2 separate regions of the Homo sapiens genome follow, and region 2 is linked to region 1. The links are contacts of gene promoters, found by promoter capture Hi-C in human tissues and cell types (Jung and others, 2019). All regions are on one chromosome and are shown on one strand. The core of a region is centred on a gene start or on the middle of the fragment in contact, and the rest is flanking DNA. Distances in the headings are between cores, read along the strand shown. Region 1 holds the start of CSMD1 (CUB and Sushi multiple domains 1). Region 2 overlaps CSMD1 (CUB and Sushi multiple domains 1).

Evidence for each region. The method cuts DNA at HindIII sites, captures the fragments that hold promoters and counts their contacts. A contact is called where the count stands out against the background at its distance.
Region 2: a fragment that was not itself captured here is called in contact with the fragment with the promoter of CSMD1 in region 1 in 3 of the 25 tissues and cell types used here (adrenal gland, hippocampus and stomach).

The regions. Positions count from the first base shown.
Region 1 is chr8:4,992,472-4,997,570 of GRCh38, reverse strand. It overlaps CSMD1 (CUB and Sushi multiple domains 1), which reads left to right and starts at 2,657. Exons shown (of 70, transcript NM_033225.6): 1 at 2,657-3,239. The coding sequence starts at 3,155. The HindIII fragment of the contact is 12,651 bases long and covers 307-5,099 here.
Region 2 is chr8:4,952,086-4,957,184 of GRCh38, reverse strand. The region is part of intron 1 of CSMD1 (CUB and Sushi multiple domains 1); the gene reads left to right. Among named protein-coding and RNA genes, the nearest start is that of CSMD1, 40 kb to the left of the region's middle. The HindIII fragment of the contact is 4,112 bases long and covers 661-4,772 here.

The sequences.
Region 1 (5,099 bases), core at 1,408-3,907:
AGTCAGTATACAAGTAGAGAAGTATGATGTTCCAGGCAGCACAGGCCCTGGCAGAGAAGTGGCCACAGAGCTTCCTGGTGTGACGTCCCTGGGCCCCCACACTCACTCTAACCACGTGTGGTTAATACTGCCCTAAGTAACATGTACTGGACTTCTGATATAGATTAAGGCTTTCGCAATCATTTACACATCAAAGTGTGTATGTATGTGTCGGGGGAGCTTGCAGTGTTCTAATAGGCTCAAGCTGGACCGCAAGGAGGGCACAAGAGTGTTCTGGAGGAGATTCAAAACGCAGGCAGGGAACCGCAGAGGAGGTCAGAGAAGTAAAACAGAGGGACCACTGATCTCTCTGCAAACGCCAAACAAGAAATATTGGACGCTAGATGGCAGCAGAGCCCCATGTTTTCCTTCCAAATTAAGCCAGCCTTGAGATCTTGGGCGAAAAATTCACTGTATAAACACACAAATACAACCATATCAGAAAACCAGCTTATTTTATTTGTCAGCCGTTTCATACCCTTCTCATAATCATGATCAATAAACAATTTGGTACGAATCATTGTAACTCTCTAATATACGATCGGGCCAAAGAAAATACCCCACATAAATAACAGCAAAAAAAATGAGTGGTTATTGGTTATCTGGACCATTATTTCTCAAGGCTTTGTATCAGATAGATTCTTTGCTCTCTGGGGAAAGGAGGTGGCATGGGACGTTTTTCAACAGAACACAGGAAAAGGGAAGTTCAGCCCGGAGCCTGTCACAATTATGTGGAAAGGTGTTCCATCTCTCAGGTGACACTCACCGTCGTTCCTGATTGGGATCCTAATCAAGTGAAAATCATCTATGAGTCCTAGCCTAGGATGGTTAGATGTTGGAAACGTTTTTTAATGGCAGAAATCCTTCTTGGTGACACGAGCCATTAGGAATGGCAGTGTAGAGACAGGGCACCGTTTCTCAAGAAGAAGTCAGCTCTTAAGCTCCTGAAAAGAGATCCGTTTTTCCGGATGAGGCGCTTGAAATGAACTATTGGAGCACTTAATGGGTCTTGGAAAGCATTTTTGTTCACTCGCTGACTCACAGATACTATCTGAGGTCTGATTTAAAATCCCAGAGGGGGCGACCCTCTGCTCCACAGGCCCGGTTCAGCCTGAAGAATAGAACTCAGGGGTTCTATGGGAATTCCCCCGTGACTGAGGCATTCTGTCTTCCGAGTGTCCCTCCAGGGATACATGAGGCAAGACGGGACTCTGCGCTGAGGAAAATCCAAGTCATGTTCAGGACTGCAACTCCAAGAGCACGCATTCTCTCCCTCCCCACCCACCCCATATTTAAATCTCATATATCTGCGAGGAGAAAAGGGTTGTGGAGGTGGCCCCAATTGTGGCCACCTGCACCTTAGGCTGCAGGGAGACTAAGAAAGTCAGGCTTCGGTGTTTCCATGCCAAGGTTGCAGTCCTTCCTGGATCCATTATGCCTTTCTAGGGTAGACTAGGTCACAGAGGCAGGAGCAATCTAAGAAAATTGAAGGAGGGATATAAAACTTTATCAAACTGTCAACCCATTTAATCTCAAAGACTGACAGAGGAAGTGCAGGTGGGATGAAGCGGTGGGCTGTCCCTCCCACCACAGGCATTCGGTGCTGTGGGGATACCGCAGGTAGATGGTTGTATACTCTAATGGTTCCAGGCCTGGAGGCTAATTCTCTCTTACTAGGGTATGGGATTTCCACGTTCTGTCCTCTGAAAGGGCTAAACCTTTTTGGTCAAGGATGTCGAATCCTTTAAATGTCCTTCTATGGAAACCAGCCCTCACTCGTGGTGTTTCTATTAACTGACCACCTTCTCCTAAAATGTCTCTCCTTACACGTTCCCCAGGAACTGCAGGAATGCCTCCTCTATTTGGGGAGCTGGGTGAAATCCAGTTTACTGTATCAAGTACTGCTATTCTAAAGCACTGTTCTCTCTCTGCGGGCTTCATCCTTTTGCAGAATCAGGGAGAACCTGTCTCTTCTCTTTTAAGGTCCCTTCCCAACCCACAGAATTTTATATATAGTTTCATCAGAAGCTGTGCCAACATGCCGGCTCTCACAACCAGACCATAATATTAATTCTAGAGACTTCCTCATGTCACGTTTTATCTGAAGCTGAAGTTTGGGCATGGCTAAATCTAACACAATCCAAAGTCAGGAAATGTGTAAATTTGTGTAACTCCTTGCAAATAGTCCATCTTGCAAAACATTATACATATCATCATATATATATATATATAAATGTATAAATATATTCCTCCCTTGGAGTTGAAGCTTGTGCCCTTTCCACCTGCATTTCTGATCTAAGTTAGGTAGGGGGCTGCTCTCTGGTCAGCAAGGAAGGGAGATCAAAGGATGGAGGCGGGACTCTGCCCCTGCAGAAACCCTCCAGTTTGCTGGAGTTGCCGGATTACATTGTTCCTCCCCGGTGTGCGGCGTGAGCTTCCCCCACCCGAGCGCCCAACAAGTCTCCTTTCTCCAGCCTGCGCGCTGCTGCGCTGAGGCCGAATGAAGCGCAGCACGGTGCGGGCAGCCCGAGGCCCCGAGGCTGGGCTCTGTCTGTCTGGGACTGCGCCGTGCCCAGCCTCGGTCCCCTCTCTGTGGGTAAGGATGGTTGAGTCCAGCCTCCACGGCAGCGGCTCCTTGTGCCACTAGCAGCCCTTCTTCTGCGCTCTCCGCCTTTTCTCTCTAGACTGGATCTCTCCTCCCCCCCGCGCCCCCCTCCCCGCATCTCCCACTCGCTGGCTCTCTCTCCAGCTGCCTCCTCTCCAGGTCTCTCCTGGCTGCGCGCGCTCCTCTCCCCGCTTCTCCCCCTCCCGCAGCCTCGCCGCCTTGGTGCCTTCCTGCCCGGCTCGGCCGGCGCTCGTCCCCGGCCCCGGCCCCGCCAGCCCGGGTCTCCGCGCTCGGAGCAGCTCAGCCCTGCAGTGGCTCGGGACCCGATGCTATGAGAGGGAAGCGAGCCGGGCGCCCAGACCTTCAGGAGGCGTCGGATGCGCGGCGGGTCTTGGGACCGGGCTCTCTCTCCGGCTCGCCTTGCCCTCGGGTGATTATTTGGCTCCGCTCATAGCCCTGCCTTCCTCGGAGGAGCCATCGGTGTCGCGTGCGTGTGGAGTATCTGCAGACATGACTGCGTGGAGGAGATTCCAGTCGCTGCTCCTGCTTCTCGGGCTGCTGGTGCTGTGCGCGAGGCTCCTCACTGCAGCGAAGGGTAAGACGGACTTGCTCCTGGCCGGGGAGGCGGTAGAGCCCTCGGAGGCCCCGTGTGCGGACGCGAGTGTGCGTTTTGGGGACCGCAGGGTACGGAGTGGCCGCCTCTGCCCGGCGCTGCTCCATCGCCGAAGCTCGGGGAACGCGATGCACGGGAGGGAGCTTCCATCGCGCTCTCCCCAGCCCTCCTGGGCCCCCGCCCCACCCCGCCATTCCTTCCCCCTCTCTTGGGCTCACAGGAGAGATCTCTTTTTCTCGGCAGTACAGGGTGTCAAGGAGAAAGGAACCCAATACGAGTTGGGCTGGAACTGTGCTCCGCCGGGGCGGTGTTGCCTCCTCCGAGACGTGGACTCCACGGGTCGGGGTGGCTGAGGGGCAGTTCCCAGGACTTTCTCCCCGGACCCGACGCGCCTGGGAAAGCGTCCCGGGTGAAGCCGGCCTGGAAAGTTCGGGCTCTCTACGGGGGTTTTGGTACCAATAGGCAAAGGTCTCCGCCGGCCCGGCCTCCTCGCACCCATACACCCCATTCCTCCTCTCCTCCTTCCCTCTCCAACGTCCTCAGCCGGCGAGGAGTAGCTGCCTCTAGAAGGTCGCCCCCGCTTTCCTCTCCCCCGGACTTCGCTCCTTGCAAGTTGTAAGGTGTTGGCAAGGTGCGTGAAACAGGCTAGGAGTTCTGGACCGGCTTCCAAGTCAGATACATTCACTGTGGGCGCACGGGTATCCTCCTTCTACGCTGGTCAGGGGAAGGAGTTTCTCTGGGTGGCTCCTGGGCTTGGGGCTCTGTGAGCTTGGTTTTCTCCCTGAATGAGTTGGGGAATGTTTTCTTCTAAGTAGCCTACAGGCTGCGACCTCAAGGCTGGCAATAGCTTGTGTACTTGTTTATTCTCCGGGAAAGAACATAAGCTCCCTTTTGAGACAGGGCGAGAAAGAGGGAGAGAGACAGAGAGAGAGAGAATACTGATTGGTTTTCACATTGGAAATACCTGCCCCTGTCCTCATTTTTAGCCTCCTTAGATGCTTTCTTTATCAGTCAGCACTTCCATAGATGTTCCCGGGAGTATCTGTATCTACAAAGGGTTTTTCTTTCGTTTCATTTTTAAAGGTTGGAGTCCAATCTTACGATTTTTTTTCAATGGTCACTTGCTTTTTTCCCTACATAATATTTCCCCGTCCTCTCTAGATTCTTCCATCTTCTTTTCCACCCATTTCCTTTTCCTCCAGTGGTCCAGATGGAAGAGTGATTGGCAGGGCGAAGGAGGACTGTATCTGGTTCATTAGGAAACTCCAGATCTGCCTGGAGAGCGGGGGAGAGACGTGCCGCCTGGGCTTCCCCTCCCTGCACTTGCCTCCACGGGGCGTCCAGGGCTCCGTGAAAGCTGACCGCTCAGCACCAGCTCCTCCTCACCGGCATCCACCCTCACAAGGGGGTGTCTGCGGGAATGCGCCCCGAGATCTCGGGGATCGCAAACAGTGGGTCTTAGTCACCCAAGCTCGTGGTCGCTCGGGACTGGGGAGCTTCTTGCAGACGCCGACCCTCTGCCCACCCGCCCGGCTCAGTCCGGATGCCTTGGCCGGTGCCTCTGACATTGCCGGCTGCGGAGGCAGCGCCTGCTGAGCAGGGCCCGACTGGCAGCGGCCTCTGGTCAGCACTGGACTGGCTGGGAATTGGAAGGCGAGGCAGCTAAAGTCTAGGGAAAAGAGGGTTGTGCCCTGTGAGGTGTGCTGGGGCGTGTGTGTCGCAGCGGGGTGAGGGCAGGAGCCCAAGGGACAGGACCTGGCTTTTTCCAGCCGAGCCCCTGCGTGGAGAGGAAACACCTGCCACGCAACTCCGCAAAACTTCCCGCCCTTTCCCCTGCACTCC
Region 2 (5,099 bases), core at 1,467-3,966, 40 kb after region 1:
TCAGTGTTTTTCAGTTGTCACAAACTGTTTTTACCTAATTGCCAGATTTCATTTGCTTTTATTACTCTTCATGATTTATTATATTTTAAAATTCATACTTCTAGCATATCTGGCAACAGTCTCAAATTAATGTGTTTCCTCTTCCTGAATTTCTTCTCACATTTCTAGCTAGACTTAGGATTCTGCTTCAGCAGACACAAGAATCAGGAGCATGGTTAGGCTTCCCAAATAGCTGCTTTCCTCCCTTGTGTCCAGTGCAATTGAATGTGGACAAAAATGAGAGCGCCTGGTTGGGGATTGCCGCTTGGTGTGGAGGGAACACCATGAGTTCACACTGACTTCTGCAGGAGGTGCGTGGAAGCAATGCAACAGGTGGGAGGAGAAAATCTAAGTGGAAGGTGAACTTGTCCTGTTTGTGAAGTCTCCATTCCCTGGAATATTTTCCTCTTGTGTTGACATAGTCTTTGTTGGAACATTAAGTTCATCATACTGTAAGTGAGTGAATATCAACTTGTTTGTTTTCTGAAAGTTTCATATTTTCTCCAGTAATTTTCTGCATTTACATATATTTATAAAATAAAAATATCTGTTATGATGATATACACATGTATTTTAAATATATTATATGTTATGATATACACATATATTTTATAATATATTTAAAATACGTGTGTATATGATAACATATATTTTTATACACATATGCATTTTATAATATATTTAAAATATATTTTAATATGTATATTAAATATATGCACATATGAATTTTATAATATCTTGAAAATGTATGTGTATATATACATCTTATATCATCCTATCTTACGGTAAACAAGTATACATTTATAGTGGATGTTAATTATTTTTATTATTCATATGCTATTAAATGTTTTAAAATTATGAGACTATGCAAGGTCTGTCACTTTAAATTAAAAAAAAATAGCGAGTAAGGAGGGCTGTAAAGGTGTTGAACAACTTAAAAAGAAAACAAATCTCCAGTGGCCCCAAGTAGAAAAGAAACAACTCTAGAAAAATGATAACTCTGTCATCCATTATGAGCGAGAAAGTAATTAGCAGTTCTTAGGGTGATAACCAAATAACTCTCCCCTAAGTGGTTTTACGTCACCCCAGGATAGGAGCAAGTGGTCTTTGAGCACGTGACTGGAGCAGTCTGAGAGTAGTTGTCTAGAATCCTTCAGATACTGAAAATCACAGAACGCAGCACAGCGTTTCTCAAACTCAGCCATTCATCTGAATCGCCTGGATGGCTTTTTAAATATAATTTTTTGCCTCTGAAGTTTAACAACTACTTTCTAGAGGGGAAAGATACTGATTGGCAGTGTTTGCCAATTTCTACGACCTAAATATTCCCATGTTGGCCAATTTGAAGGTACTGTTACGCCACCACCTAACATGCAGTTTGGAAGAGAGGGCCCGGGCGTGGTGGCTCACGCCTGTAATCCCAGCACTTTAGGAGGCCGAGGTGGGTGGATCACCTGAGGTCAGGAGTTCGAGACCAGCCTGGCCAATATGGGGAAAGCCCGTCTCTATTAAAAATACAAAAATTAGCCGGGTGTAGTGGTACATGCTTGTAATCTCAGCTACTCGGGAGGCTGAGGCAGGAGAGTCTCTTGAACCCAGGAGGCGGAGGTTGCAGTGTGCCGAGATCATGCCACTGCACTCCAGCCTGGGTGACAGAGTGAGACTCTGTCTCACAATAAAAAAAAAAAAGAGAGGTGAGAGTTGCGGTCGAAGTAGTGCATCCACCAAACAGACACAGTAGGCATCAATAATCTCAACACATGAAAGACACCAATCATAATAAAAAGTCATAAAATGCATGGGAAGTACTGTTTTCTGTATTTATAACCTTAGTTTTTAAAATACAAATTAATTACAAGTTTATGCAACTTTATTGGTTTTTAAGGATGACTGTGTTTCAAAGATGCATTGCAACATTTCTGAAAACTTCTGTGCACACGAATGGGTAGAAGCCAACGGGAACAGCCCCGTAGGTCTGCACTCAGAGGGTTTCTGATATAGGGAACTGGAGGTGCAGCCAAAGAGTCCCATTTAAAGCCATTTCTGTGATGCTGAAGCGATTGTTCCAGAGCCTATTTTGAGAGCCACTGACATACAGCAATGGATGTCCCGAGAAAATCAGCTGGCTTTCTCGTCTAAGAAAGAACATTGAAAACCCAGAAAAATTAGACAGGAACATTCTAAAAGATAAAAGTGTCACAGACAAACAGAAACATGTTTTCACTGATCATTTCAATCAGGTATTTTGAAACAAAGTACTCTGAATTCCTGAAGTTATGAGTTAGTATGTGTAATCTTGTCAACACCAAAAGCAAAAGTAAGAGAAAATGAGAATTTTTTTCTTAAAGTCAAGTATGGAAAACCGTAATTCTGTGTAATAGCAGTTATTATTAATATTGCTCTTATCCTCCAGTCTCTGCATATTTCCATGGTGCTTATGTAGTTTATGATAGCTTATAAGGAACATTCACACACATGAATTCAGATGAGTACACATTGGGTATTTGCTTTTGGTAGGATTTTATTTTATAGTATATCCTTCTTTTAGAAAGTATAAAAGTTCTAAGTAGATAAAATGTGTTTATCATTTAAACATATTTTTTAAAAAAATAAAATCTATAGATGAATTGAGGTGGAATGCATCTATTCTGTTGTGCCACGTGATCAATTTCAGTCATCATTCAAATCAATAAATGGTGTCAGCTATACAATTGTGCACAGCATTGGGAGTGCTAACCTGGAAACAGCTTCAATCAGAAAACAATCACACACAAAAAATGTGTCTTTAGAGTTACAAATGGAAATATCACCTTTTTAAATAACAAGCTTCCTTTATTTAAAACCTGTTATTTGCACCTCTGTTGTAACACTTATCACACCATATCGTAATTGGTAATTGTTTAAAAATAATTTCTTAAACTCTGAGCTCCTTGAGGTTAGGGAACACATAATGTGTTTTCTGTTTGTTTATTTCTAAATGGCAAATAGTTGGTTCTTATTTGAACCTACTCTTTGGCATTTAGAAATAAAATAATGTGTTTAAATTGGCACAGGTAGGATACATGGAAGAAATGTTTATGAATTTGGAGAAAGAAAAGCACTCAATTCTTTTTAACAGGTGGGTGGGAAGGGTAACGTCTTCATTGCTGCTGTGTTTCTGGTAATCTCGGTAGTATTTCTTAACTTTACTGTGCATTAGGTGCACCAGGAGAGCTTTTTAAACATCAAAACCCTTGATCCCTACTCCTGGGTAGTCCAATCTCTAAGCCCAGGGTTGAGTCCTGCAACCTGCATTTGAACAGGGATCCCAGATAATTCTTCCTGTGGCAGATAGTTCACAAACCACATTTTGGGAAAATTACCAAAGACAGAGAGAATTAGCCTTGCAGAAAGACAGGTATTGATCTCCATCCAAATCTTGGAACAGGCAAATTTAGCAACATGTAAAAATAGCATATTGATAATTCTTTTCTTAATGTGAATAACATTTAATTCTGACTGCTTCTGTGTATTTCTATGAGTATTGCCAAGTTTTTTTCTTTACTAAATTTTATGACTAGTTGACAATCGTTTCTCAACAGTGAGAAACAAATTGAGATAAAGGTTTATAAGGGCACAGTTCAAGTTACATAACTTGCCACCGTGGACGATGTTGGGTTCATCCAGAAATGCTCCTTATAAAGCAATTATTTAGTATTTGAAGTGATAGTGTTAATCTTAATGATTTTATTTGTCCTTCATATTGATTACATGTGTTGATCGCATAGTCCTTCCATAAATGGTGATTCAGGATTTAGTATCTGTTAATGAAAAGTTACAACAAGTTCAATTGTGAATAGATATTGTACTTTCTAAAAGACTGATTTAGTTAGGCTATTTAGAAATATATGTTCAAAAGATAAGGCTGGAAAATTTTCAGCAAAACTCATTAGGAAATAAAAGATTTTCCTCCTACAATGAGTGCTACCTTATACTTTGAGTGTATCTTCTACCTTGAGAATTAAATTCAGTTAATTTGAGTTAATAACTGTTACAATTCCATTTGAATATATATTTCTTTTAAGGACTATAATGTTTTTTTGTCTTAACATCTGCTCACGTATTAATGGTCACTCTCATCTCACATGTGGAAAACCTTTAGTATAAGTATGAATGCATGGATGTGGAATAAAAACAGCCTTCTACTTTTGTATCAATTACTGCCATGTCTTGTAGTATGTAGCAGTGAATCAGTTCAGTATAGATTTCATTCAAAAACATTTGTTAACAACATCACAGTCTACATCCAACAAGCTTACCTGCATATAGTCAGAGTTATTAAAAACGCTGATTACTGTGTAGAAGTATTGTTTCATTAGGATGTAAGCTATAAATTGAAATTACAGGAAATTTCAAATAAAAATAAAGGAATCTCTCAATATTTGATATACTCATTTTAATACTCATTTTAATGTATTCCATGTTTTGCTTCTGATAGATTTTTAAATCCATATTTGAACCTCTACCACAATCACCATATCAACTATGCTCTAATTGTGAATTGTGAATTAAATACAAAATCATAGTGTGGATAATTTTAAAGTGAAAATTTAAAAATCATATTAAAGTATTGAAAAAATAGAATTTAAGTAATTCATGAAAAGGTAAACTTTTATGTCCTTAAATATTTTGCCTTTTCTTTTAGACATAGGTAATTGAAATCCAGTAAGTATGACTCACTAATATAGACTCTTCCATTTTACAATTTTTAAGTGTGAAACTGTGTGGACATTTGAATCAACGCATACATTATTCAGTTTCACTTATTGGGTTTGTTTTCATTCCCAAAAAGCGTTGGCTAATTAACTTGATTATAATATTTGTTGCGTTTTATTATCTATAATAGTTTATCTTATAGAAAAAAATCCAAATTAACTCCACGGAGCAAACATGGCTTTATTTACGTTTTGATTACATTACTTTTCCTGTGTAGGAGAGGTGTGTGTGATAATTTTAAGACATTATTTTGTGCAAGATATTTAGTGAAATTAAGACTATTCAGATCTATTTGGGATGCATTA